2 separate regions of the Homo sapiens genome follow, and region 2 is linked to region 1. Evidence: promoter capture Hi-C in 16 types of primary human blood cells and fetal thymus (Javierre and others, 2016). All regions are on one chromosome and are shown on one strand. The core of a region is centred on a gene start or on the middle of the fragment in contact, and the rest is flanking DNA. Distances in the headings are between cores, read along the strand shown.

Region 1 (6,165 bases), core at 3,666-6,165:
AGTATTTTTGTAAGAATTACATGAGATAAATTCCTTCTGGACAATTTGCAGAGACTTGCCCCATGGAAGAATACAGGTTAACCTCTGAATAGTGTACCTGCTAAATTTTCCTCTACATTCTGAAAAAAGGAAGAAAGGGGACAGGAACCATCATTTAACACTTGCCATGGATCAGTCACAGTACCTTCACCATTTAACCCAACTCATGTAATCCTTGCCTTGTACACTGTGAAGCAGGCCCTATATGTCCCGTTTTACAAATGAGGAAGCTGAAGTTCAGAGAGCTAAAGTATAGCACCTAAAGCAATCCAGTTGGTAAATAACAGACCCAGGATTTGAACGCAGATCTGTCCAACTCCAAAGCCGTGCTGTTTCTTCTGTACAAGGTCAGTGAGAAGAGGACTATTTGGCTCCCTTCCTAGCCCTTCCATTCTGACATCATCTTCACTTCTCAGTAATGGAGACAGACCTCGACCCACCATGGTTAGGCCTAGCTCTAAAGTTGTTTGAAGGATGATACTGCCTTCTGACCTTCAACCTGTCTCTGCTTCCCCGAACTCCAGCCTGCTTTTGTCCACAAAGCCAGGCTGGATGCAGAAAACATTGTCCAGTCTTCCCAAGTCTGATGTGGAATATTGTGTGCTTGAGCAGAGAGCACAGAACAGAGATGAGACTGCTGAAATAGGGGAGGAATGGGAGAGAGGCAAATATACCCTGGTTCAGGATGTTTGAACTGCCAAGCATATTTCTTGGAATAAAAGCAAGAATGGACGCTTTCAAAAAGCACCTAGGCATTGACCTTGAGCTCTGCAACGTCTTCTGCATCTTCTCAGGTAAGGAGGAATCCCTGAAAACTCTGATGATGGCTTGGGACAGCATGATTTGCAGAAGTCACCCAGCTTTGGCTAGATTTGCTATCTTGGTATGGGGGCTGGGGGAGAGAGTGTCATCTGCAGGAAATACTGATAAAGCTGTTCTGGCTGAAACCCCATAGGGAATCCATAGTACAGTTTATTCCAAATAATGATATGAAGTTATACCCTCAAATACAGGACCTCAACTTGATTCTGCAGTAGACTAGGTTCAACTGATGTTTGTTTTTTTGAGTAAATTAACACTTCTGCAGAAGGCGGCTACATGCCTCAGTAAGCAGAGGATGGGGGAGGTGGGGAGAAGAGACCAGGGGCCCTCAGGGTTGGGTCAGAGCCTCCTTAGCTTCTATCCACGTGGCAAAGCTGTAGGTGTGCTTGTGTGTCTATTCCTCTGTGTCTCTCCCTGCACGTCAGACAATCCAGCTACAATCGTCAGACTGCTCCCTTTACATTTCTGCTGGGGACTTGGAGGGAGGAGGGAATGGGGAAAGGGCTCCCTATTTAGAAATTGCATTGAGATGGAAAGACAATATGACACATCGGCTCATGTCAAAGGAGCTCATTCTTCCCGCCTACAGCATTAGCAATTTCCTACCAAGGTTCAATTTTTTTAAAGAAATTATTATTTGGTTTTAATTTATTTTATTTGCAACATAACTCAACAAGACATTGCTGCTCAGAGCAGAGTGGGAGCCTGCCCAAGGGCAGAGACTTAAGTTGGGGGCAGGAGATGAGCACATTGGCTATTTCCGAAGAGAGGAGGGCATAGGAGTGGGAGGCCTCTTGTTTCTGTCTCAAACCTCCTCTCATTCTGCCTCCCATTCCACCCCAGCTCCTCTTCCTGCATCTGAGAAGTCTGGTCTGGAGGTGCCCAGACTCGGGATGCTCCATGCATGGCTGTAGGCGCAATGAGAACGATGGGGGAGGGGGAGCTGAAAGTGAGTTGGCCTCTGTAAAACCACCCTCAGCTTCAGAGCCAGGAAAGGCTGCCTCCCTCCTCCCTTTGCCCCAGCCTCCTCTTTTCTCCCTCATGTAAAATCCTAGAGTGCTGTTGCTGGAAGGAGCCTCAAAGAGCTCCTAATCCAACTTCACATAGGCACACTGAGCCCCAGATAGGGGATGTGACAGCCTCGTGGCTGCTTTGGTGCACCAGCCCTGAATCCCAGCCCTCCCAGGCCCTGTCCAATGTACTTATTTGCCACCACTCCATGCTTAACTGTCTCTGCTCCTGCTTCTCTCCTCCCCACCCCTAAACCCAAACTCAGAATGGGATTTCTCTGAGAGATAGAATTGAAGGGCAACAATTCCACTTCTTTCCACCTCTTTCCCTCTCTGGGTTTGAGTGGGACCCTGGATCCTCCCTCCCAGCTCTTGGTGGGACCCTGGGACTCTGAATTTTATCTCTTCATATGGGAAGAAGCAAAGGTGTGTTTGGGGGTTGGGTTTGCAGGGCAAAGGGGTTTGAGAGACAAAAAAGTTTCCATCATTACATGAAGAATTTTTCTGCTTTGTGGCTGGTTATGTGACCACAGTGGTATCAGCAATTGACCTGGGGGCTGGGGGAGGTAGCGGGCTAAAGAGGACAACTAGGGTGAGGCTTTACCTTAATGTCTCCTTCTGAATGTGTGTTTCTTTACCTGTACATCTGTCTCCCTGTCTGTTTCTCTGTTCTCTATTTCCTATAACTGTCTCTCTGTATCTCTGTCTCATCCTCTGTCTCTCTCATTTGTATCTGTCTCTTGCCTCTATTTCTGTCTCTGTTTCTTTCTCTCTGTCTCTCTCATCTCTGTCTCTCCCACACACGCTAACTCCTACAATCCAACTTCAATAGCTATTGACTGACCCAGGGGCCCTAACCTGTTTCTGCAGCCCTATCAGGGCAGCAGCTCCTTCACACTGCTAGATTGAGAAATGCCAGGTCCGGAGCTGCTGCCGGGGCGCCAGAGACGCTGCAGAAGCGCCTGCCGAGTGTGGAGGCTGAATCCAGGAACAATGAGAAATTATCTGTTAATTCTCGGCTCCTGCCACCTGCTCTGCTCCAAACAAGCTCCTTTGCCTTCAGTTTAGATGCAAATTCCCCCACTCGATGTAAGCAAAATATTGATTTCCCTGCATCACAGGTCTGGGCCCTTGGAATGGTCCTGTGTTTTTTCATTCTCTGCAAAGGCAAAACAAGGTGCTTTGTTCTGTGAATTTCCCCCAGGAACTCGCGAGGGGGAGGGAGAAATAGCAGGGGAGTGACAGAGTTGCCATAAACACGGGCAAAGAGCAGTTCTCCATTTGTATTTTACATAAACACAAACCTGCCACTTGGGAAACTGCTAATAAGCGTTTAGCCAGAGGCTCTTCTGGGTGCTGAGATCTGCATCGGGTGATGGAAAAGAAATTAATGGGGCCTCTAGGCTCCTCAGGTGGGTTTTCAGAAGCACCAGGAAGGCGCATAGGGATGCCAGAGCCCCACTTGTTCTTGGAACAGCAACCAAACACCTCCAGCAGGAAGGCAGCCCGGATTGCACAGTATCGCCTGCGTCGTGTCTGCTTGGTCCCTGCCTGAGTTCCTAGCCTTCTGCTATCACAGGCACAGGGGTCAGGGTGGAAGCTGCGAACCTTCAACAATTGCCTCTCCCTCGTCCCCTAAACTTATGCCCACGCGATGGTAGCACCAACTGGGTCTTCAGCACCGTGGACAGAGCCAGGGGGCGCCTCACGGTGGAAAAGCCGCCTGGCTGGGCCAGGGTCCTCACAGGCCTTGCCTTAGCCCTTGGTGCCCCAGGCACCAGCTGCTAGGGGATCGCAAGTCCAAGGGCCGGTTGGCACAGATGGCGCGCAGTGGAGACCGCCAGGAGCTAAGGCTCCGAATCTCCTCCCTCCGGAACGTGAGTCACTGCCCGAGTCACTTCCAATAAGCGTGTTAATTAAGAGGCAAGACCTTTCTCCCTCGCCAGCCACTCGGGCATACACCAACCCAGCAGCCTCCAGGGGCTGCAGCTAAAGCTTCCTTCCCAGCTCCGGGAGAGCAAATGGACCTGAGTCTGGGGCTTCAGGCGAGCCCCACACAGAAGGGGCCCCACCGCCGACAGGTGTAGATCAAGAGACTCCCGAGATAGGCCCCTGCAGGGCGCTGGTCCCCCGGCCTCCCTGACCATGGCTCACAGACTTCCAGCGCTGAGTGAGGCAGCTCGAAGCCTCTCAGCCGATCTGTTCCTGGGCCTCACTCCACAGTTTCTGAGGGGATCTCTACTTTAAGTCTAGCCTCAATCCTCCCGTTGAGCTTTCTGTCTTTCTTGTTATGCTTAGCAGAAAGATACATGATCTCTGGTGCTGTTTCACCGAAGCAAGGAGGTGGGTCGGCGGAACTGAGCGCCCTGCGCCCTCTTGAAATGACCCCCCATTCCTGTTTGCCAGAAACTTTTCCCTCCCGTTGCCATGGAGAGAGACGGCCGCTGCCTCCCGTCGCCATAGCAACATGCGGGTACCGCGGACCGCAGGATTGCGGAGCTCGGAAAGTCTTGCAGTTCGCATCGCCCGCCTGTCTTGGGGTCTTCTACCTCCGAAGCTGGGACTCGGGGGCCAGTCTAACTGCTCCCGTCAGGAACCTCGGCCAAGGTCCTCCCAGACCCTGCCTGACCGTCGCTCTTTCTGTTACGGGGTTATCTATTTCTCTGTCATTCGTGTGGCATGTGGCAGTTTACCCAGTGTTTTCACAAACACGATCTTTCTATCCCCAGGGAGTCCGTGAAGTACTTAAAATCATTACACCTCCTTTACGGAGAGGAAAATTGAGGCTCAGAGACGCCCAAGGTCACACCAGGCAGTGAATGCGGAGTGGGAACCCGGACTCTTTCCTGGCCTTGCACCCTCCGAGATTCGGGACAGCCCGGCTTCCCGCCTCGAAACCCCCACCCCCCGGACTCAGGCCAGTCCCTGAGTGTAGAGGGGGCGGCCGCGAGGCGCCAGACTCGCCAGCTGCCGCGGGATGCCACGTGAGGGGCGGGGACCCTGCGGGGAAGTGATTAAAAGCAGAGCGGAGCCGCAGGGGGCCGCTGCAGGGAGGGTCTTCTTGGGGCCGTCGTGCCCCGCCCCAGTGCGGCCGGGGCGCGGGTTCGAGCTGCTGCTCGGCAAGCCTGGGTGTCTAGGGCATGAGCGGAGTGTGGGGGGCCGGCGGGCCTCGGTGCCAGGAGGCGCTCGCGGTCCTCGCCTCGCTGTGCCGGGCCCGGCCGCCCCCTCTCGGGCTGGACGTGGAGACTTGTCGGAGCTTCGAGCTGCAGCCCCCAGAGCGGAGTCCCAGCGCGGCAGGCGCAGGTAACGGGAGACCCAGGGCCCCCTCCCTTCCTGGATATCCGTCCTGCGATCTCCCTTCCCCAAAGCCCCGGTCCCAGGAGCCCCAGAACCTAGAGAGAACTCCCCAGCTCGGGATTCTGGATTGGGAGCCAGCCTCGTCCAGCCCTCTGGCCCATCGCTTGCACAGCCAGGAGAGACCCGAAGGGGAGCGGAGGTTGGGGTAGAAGCCCCCGGCCCTCCTGTATTACTACTGCGGAATGCGGGGGACCCCGCAGACAGCCAGGCTCCCAGGACGGGGCACCCTTGGGGCTTCAGTTTCCCTCGCATCTCCAAGCTCGCTCTGCGGGCGATTTGCCAGGAGAGGGGTCCATGGAGAGAGCGGGAGACGAGGGGCGCCCGGCTGAGGAATAGGGCTTGCCTCCTAGCGAGTGTCGAGGTCCCCGGGTCCGTGCGTCGGTCTGTCCGTCCGTTTGTGTGTTCTCGCGGTGAACGCGGGCGGACCCCCAGTCTCTCCGGGAGAAACTTGGGTCTGCGGCTGGCACGAGGTCTTTGTGTCCGGGTGTCTCTCCGGCTGCGAGTGGTTTTCCGCGTCTCCGCTGGGGGGCGGGGGACAGGGGGCGGGGTGGGGGAGGGTATGAGGGTGTTGCGGCGTCCTTCCCCCACCCCCTCTCGCCCCTATAACTCGCTCCCTCCGTCCCTCTCGGACTCGGACTCGGGGCCGGTGCGCGACTGAGCTGGCGCCTCTAGCCGACTTTGCCAAGAGGGCGCCTCCTGCCCGATCCGCGCTGACCCTGCGCGGGACGCAGCCCCAGGCGGCTGCCTAGCCGAGGCGGGAGCCCGAGCTGAGTCGAGCTCGCCGGAGCGGGTGAGTCCCGAGCCCGATCCCCGCCGGGCTGGACCCTGGCGCGCAGCTGCGGCGTCTCCGGGGAGTCGCGGCAGGGGGAATGGCGTGTCGCGCCCTGGCGGCGGGAGCTGCGGGAGGGTCGGCGACGTGGCGGCCGGCCCAGGGTAT
Region 2 (6,019 bases), core at 1,459-3,958, 120 kb after region 1:
TTGAACAATTGATCAGAGGCCCTTCATTGCCCTCTTCCAGGTGTCCACATCTCTGTTCTCTGGAAGGCCTGCCTGGGCCCAGGACTGTTTCTGTCACATGCACTTGCCTGAAGAGCCCTGACTTAGTAGACAGGTGGGTGGCTCTTAAGGTGGGTTTAGCTCTTCTGTGACTTTTTCTGTCCTGAGCCTCTATTGGAGCTAAGCCTCATTCACTGCCACGTGATGTGGCAGACTGGCACCACCCTCACCAGAGTTCCAACCTTGTAATCCATGTGACAGATCCCTCCTTCCTCCAAATCTCCAAATAGCAGGGAAATTACTTGTCATTTGGTCATTCTCTGTGCCTGGGTAATCAAAGCTGTCACCTGGGGTGTGTCAGATGACCACTGATTATGGATTCTCCCCTTTCCTAACACAGCCTAGCCAGTCTTCGTCAGACTGTATAGTTATTTTATTTATTTTTACCTTTTTCATTTTTACACCTCTGTTCTAGGCAAACACAAACTCTATAGTAATATCTCTGATGGCATTTGAAGCAATTCTTTATCAAAGTTCTCCAAAGCTAGAAAGACCTGGAGCACTGAAGGTTGTGATCATTTAGTCTCCATTTCCGAACTAGTGTAGTGTGTAGTTTGAGAGATTGAGTTCTAGAGCCACACTGCCTCAGACAGATCCTAGTTCCACCACTCGCTAGGGGAATGACCTTGGGCAAGTCACATGAACTTTTAATTCAAGTTTGTCCAACCTGCAGCCTATGGGCCATATGCAGCCCAGGATGGCTTTAAATATGGCCCAACACAAATTCATAAACTTTCTTAAAATATTATGAGTTTTTTTTGTAATTTTTTTTTTTTTTTAGCTCATCAGCTATTGTTAGTGTTAGTATATTTTATGTGTGGCCTAAGACAATTCTTCCTCCAATGCGGCCCAGGGACGCCAAATGATTGCACACGCCTGTTTTAATCCTTTGGTTGCTCATCTATGAAATGGAAATAGAAAATAATAGTGTCTTTTCTTAGTATTACTGTGAGGATTAAACAAGACCATCCAGGTAAAAGAGCTTAGAACAGAGTAGCTCCTCAAATAAAGGAGAGCTACCATTATCTGTACATAAGAGAAGGCAACGCCTCGGGCAGAATGTTCCCCATTCTCTAATTCCCTTCCTCATCCCACTCCATCCCCTTCACAGTCCCCACTGTAAGTCCTTCCTCAGTCAGGATATTCTTCCTCTCCTATAGGATGAGGAAAACCTAAGCCCACTCTCCTCTTGGTCCTGCCATTTCCTCAGGCGGGTGTCAGTATGGTCTTCCTCCATCCAAGGCTCTGCTAATCAGCTGAGAACTACGCATGTGGGGAGGGATGATGAGCAGAAATAGTGGATTTTTCACCTCCATTTCAGCTCCTCTCCATGAGCAAATGCTGCAGTCTTCTTTCCCTGAATGACCTAAAAGAAAATACCCCTTTGCAATTCATTTTCTTACAAAGACCTCAGTCTAGCATATGTAATGCATGCATATTCTTCCCATTAACACAGCTTTGACCCTACTCTTAAGGAAGTAATTATCCTGGCCTTATTATGCTAAAGAACCTTTTGCCTACGTTCTGACCTGGTTTTTATTACAAGGCGTCTCCCCGTTAACTACAAAGGCTTCCATCTGAATTGGGAGATTAATGGTACCATCTCCTTGGCATAATTTCTCTGATCCCCAAATTCCTCTTTTAATGATAGCTGTTTTTCTTGCTGCTCATTTCGCTGTTCACTTCCATCTTCCTATTTCGAAGCTCCAAACCCTTGTGGGAACTCCCACTCAGCAGCAGTTTCTAGCTGGATGGGCACCTCTTGGTCCCAGCCCACTGTAGAGATGACTAACCCATCCTAAACTCAAAGATGAATCACTCAGATTACCAGCTCCCACCAATTTTTCACAGACCCCGTTACCTCCTAGGGTGCCCATCTCATCCCACCCTGTCCTCCTGGAACAGTGGTTCTCACCTTTGTCCACTCCTCCGGCATGCACTTGTGCTCACATTCCTAGCACCAGTGTTATGAAAGAGGGGTCCCAATCCAGACCCCGAAAGAGGGTTCTTAGATCTTGCACAAGAAGGAATTCCAGGTGAGTCCACAGAGTAAAGTGAAAGCAAGTTTATTAAGAAAGTAAAGGAATGAAAGAATGGTTGCTCCATGGACTGAGCAGGGCATTTCTGAAAGCAAGAGGAGTAAGGCGCCCACCTTATTAGGTGCAATGCATGTTTATATATGAGATAACAAGGCAAAAAATCATGAAAAGGATGTGGTCTATTACAAGGGCTCATGACAAAGGATTGTTAATCCTTGTGTAACTACTGACTTTTGCAAGAATCTATATTACTATCTTTAAAGCAAAATTTATTACTAAACAAAGAATGCTTTTGTGCTTAAGATAGCAGGACATCAAGACATTTCTTGGGTCTGTTAAGTCCTGGGTCTGTTTGGTAAACATTATTAACCTGTTCCCTTAACTGTAAACACCCTGTGACTGCGAATCCCTAACCTCCTGGGAATGCAGCCCAGCAGGTCTCAGTCTCATTTTACCCAGCACCTATTCAACATGGTTCCAAAGCTTCTGACAGTAAGACACCCCTGGATTTTCTTTTTTCTTTTTTTTTAAACTTTATGCTTTGTGGCATTAATAAAACCGTCCTCAGGTAACGCTCTATCCCCAGTCCCAACCATTATTACAAATCTTCCCACAACTGAGCAACACTCCCCCACATCCCATTAAAAACCTGCATTCTCTACCTATTGTATTCCAGAGCTACAATTTCTAGAAGCTTCTTAAACATGCAATAACAACAAACACAATTCCTTCTAAGGGAAAAGAAGGTCCAACCCCATCGCAAAATTCCCCAAGAAACAGGAAAGCGTTAATTCCACCTTAAATCCCAAGCAGTCAATAACCCAGTGCCCATAATGGGCTCTGCAGATCACCCCACCCCACCATCTGCCCCAATTTCCAAAATCTGCTCAGCAACCAAAGCCATTAAATCCAGAAACTAATTTGTAAGGAAAACAATGAAAAGAGTAATAATCTCTCCGTAGGATGCCAATGGAAGGTCCCACAGGGACTGGTGCACTGTAGAGAAAGGAGAAGGGTACCTGGAAAGAAATGCCTATTAACATTCAAAGCCCCCTAGTGGAATGGAAGCTGACCTGCTGCAGAATGAAAATGTCCCAGCCCACAGGAGCCTGCACTCAGGTTCGCTTTATTTATCCTGCAAACAGGAGTTGCTAATAGCAAACAATCTTGGGCCTGCTCCCCACAGCTCAGGGGTAGCTCGCAGCGCTGTCCCCAAGACACGTGCCTGGGTTGCTTTGGAGCAATGCTATTTGCAAAAGGAGAAAAAGAAAAATGAAGCAGGGATGTGGAAGTGGGAGAAAGAGCCAGAAAGGCTGAAGAGTAAGCTGGCAGAGAGGGCAGTCTGGTGGTCTTTGCACAGTTGCTGCAGCGGGGGCCAACCTTGCCGAAGGGAAATACTGATGTGATCTTCTGTTCTTCATGGATGGGGGCCAGATACTCAGAAATGGGGAGAGATTCACCTTGAGTCATCCAGTGAGTCACAGACAGGAGGCAGAAATAGATCTTATGACCCACTGTTCACTGTCAAAGACATCTTTTAGCATCTGTAACCAGGATTCCTGAGTGGGGATGGATTCGGGTGCTCCTTGCATTCAGATTGGTTCATTTGATGAGATGTCTGTTCTCTTCCATTCCAAAGGCAAGTGATTTAAAGTCAAGACAGACCAGGATCTTCAAACAAACTTTCCTGGCCAAGGCTACCTCTCTACTCACATTAAGTATGTCTGTTTCCCATTGTTGGCAAGGTAGAATTCATTTGCTTCCTGTCTCTCCTTTGCCCGACTGCTGTCTTGCTTCCACAACACCAAGTCCATCTAGGAATTTTAGATCTCGCTGGGGCCTCATGCATTCCAGAAAGCCTTTCTTGATTAGATTGCCCCAGTTTTGTTCTTTTCTCTTACTTGTATTTTATTAGGGCTTGTGACAGACAGTGGGAACTGCTTACCCAACATCCAAGGTCCCTTCAGCTCCTATGTTGTCAGAAGTCAGATTCAGTTCTGATATTCACCCTCCCCCTGTGCTCAAGGAGGGTGTTCCTTGTCACACACGTCCGTGTGAAGAGACCACCAAACAGGCTTTGTGTGAGCAACAAGGCTGTTTATTTCCCCTGGGTGCAGGTGGGCTAAGTCCAAAAAGAGAGTCAGTGAAAGGAGATAGGGGTGGGGCTGTTTTATAGGATTTGGGTAGGTAGTGGAAAATTACAGCCAAAGAGGGTTGTCCTCTGGTGGGCAGGGGTGGGGGTCACAAGGTGCTCAGTGGGGGAGCTTTTGAGCCAGGATCAGCCAGGAGAAGGAATTTCACAAGGTAATGTCATCAGTTAAGGCAGGAACAGGCCATTTTCACTTCTTTTGTGATTCTTCACTTGCTTCAGGCCATCTGGATGTATACATGCAGGTCACAGGGGATATGATGGCTTAGCTTGGGCTCAGAGACCTGATATTCCTGTCTTCTTATATTAATAAGAAAAATAAAATGAAATAGTGGTGAGTGTTGGGGCAGTGAAAATTTTGGGGGGTGGTGTGGAGAGATAATGGACGGTGTTTCTCAGGGCTGCTTCGAGCGGGATTAGGGGTGGCGTGGGAAGCTAGAGTAGGAGAGATTAAGCTGAAGGAAGATTTTGTGGTAAGGGGTGACATTGTGAGGTTGTTAGAAGAAACATTTTTCGTATAGAATGATTGGTAATGACCTGGATACGGTTTTGGATGAATTAAGAAACTAAACGGAAGACACAAGACCCGAATAAAAGAAGTAGAAAAACAGATATTAAAGGACTAAGAATTGGGAGGGCCCAGGACATCCAGACATCCAGGACATTAGAGAGTGCCTAAGGGGGTTCAGCGTAATTACTTGCTTGGTCCCAAGTTTAGGCTCTATCCTTGAGTTTTTTTATGTTGTCACAAACCAAGTCAGACTGATTTAGGTAAAAACAACACTTTTCATTTAAAAATATACAGAGTCTTTTTTTTTTTCAGTGTGTAAGTTGAGGCCTCAGCGATTTTGGAGGAAAGAGAAATGCAAAGCCAGCAATTGTTTGTTAAAGAAGGATTAGAAACGGCTAGGAGAGAGTGAGAGAGATTGATAGTGTGGTGGAGATAGCTGGGGAGAGAGGTAGAGAGTGGCATAAGAATGAGAATGAGAATAAGAGTGAGTATAAAAGTAAAGAATAGGGCTTCATCAGGGTGAAAGTATTGGAGCGTACCCTGTCAGCAAAGATTATCTATCCACTTTAAGAGAGACTTAAGGGTGGCGGTTTGAGGTAAAACCAGGAGATATCAGTTATGCTGGTTCGAAGGAAAAGTGTAAACCGGCAATGTAAACAAGAGCAGGGCATTTATGGGTAGATGAGAATGGCGAATAGGAGTATGACTAGACAGAAGACAGTAGGGATGACAAGTTTTTGGGGTGCAGTTCAAGTTGGGCTGGTGTCTGGAATGAGACTGGGGCCTAATAAAAAGGAGCATCCATACAGGAGCGCAAATGGGCTGTACCCTGTAGCAATCCGAATTCTGAGAAGGGCAAGTGGTAAAAGTACTGTCCAGTCCTTTTTAAGTTGGAGGCTGAGCTTGGTGAGGTGTGTTTTGAAAAGACCATTAGTCAGTTCTACTTTTCCTGATGATTGAGGACGGTAAGGGGTATGAAGGTTCCACTGAATACCAAGAGCCTGAGAAACTGCTTGGGTGATCTGACTAGTAAAGGCCTGTCCATTATTAGACTGTATAGAGGTGGGAAAGCCAAACTGAGGAATTATGTCTGACAGAAGGGAAGAAATGATCGTGGTGGCCTTCTCAGACCCTGTGGGAAAGGCCTCTACCTATCCAGTGAAAGTGTCTACCTAGACCAAGAGGTATTTTAGTTTCCTGACTCGGGGGATGTAAGTAAAATTAATTTGCCAGTCCTGGGCA

Evidence for each region. The method cuts DNA at HindIII sites, captures the fragments that hold promoters and counts their contacts. A CHiCAGO score of 5 or more calls a contact.
Region 2: a fragment that was not itself captured here is called in contact with the fragment with the promoter of SYT6 in region 1 in 5 of 17 cell types (M0 macrophages, M1 macrophages, M2 macrophages and 2 more); the score reaches 7.4 in M0 macrophages.

The regions. Positions count from the first base shown.
Region 1 is chr1:114,152,619-114,158,783 of GRCh38, reverse strand. It overlaps SYT6 (synaptotagmin 6), which reads left to right and starts at 4,915. Exons shown (of 8, transcript NM_001253772.2): 1 at 4,915-5,174. The coding sequence starts at 5,012. RefSeq lists a silencer at 1,903-2,197 and an enhancer at 3,127-3,740. The HindIII fragment of the contact is 4,368 bases long and covers 3,869-6,165 here.
Region 2 is chr1:114,030,621-114,036,639 of GRCh38, reverse strand. No RefSeq gene overlaps it. Among named protein-coding and RNA genes, the nearest start is that of OLFML3, 54 kb to the right of the region's middle. RefSeq lists a silencer at 1,319-1,613 and enhancers at 4,268-4,851, 5,436-6,019. The HindIII fragment of the contact is 211 bases long and covers 2,603-2,813 here.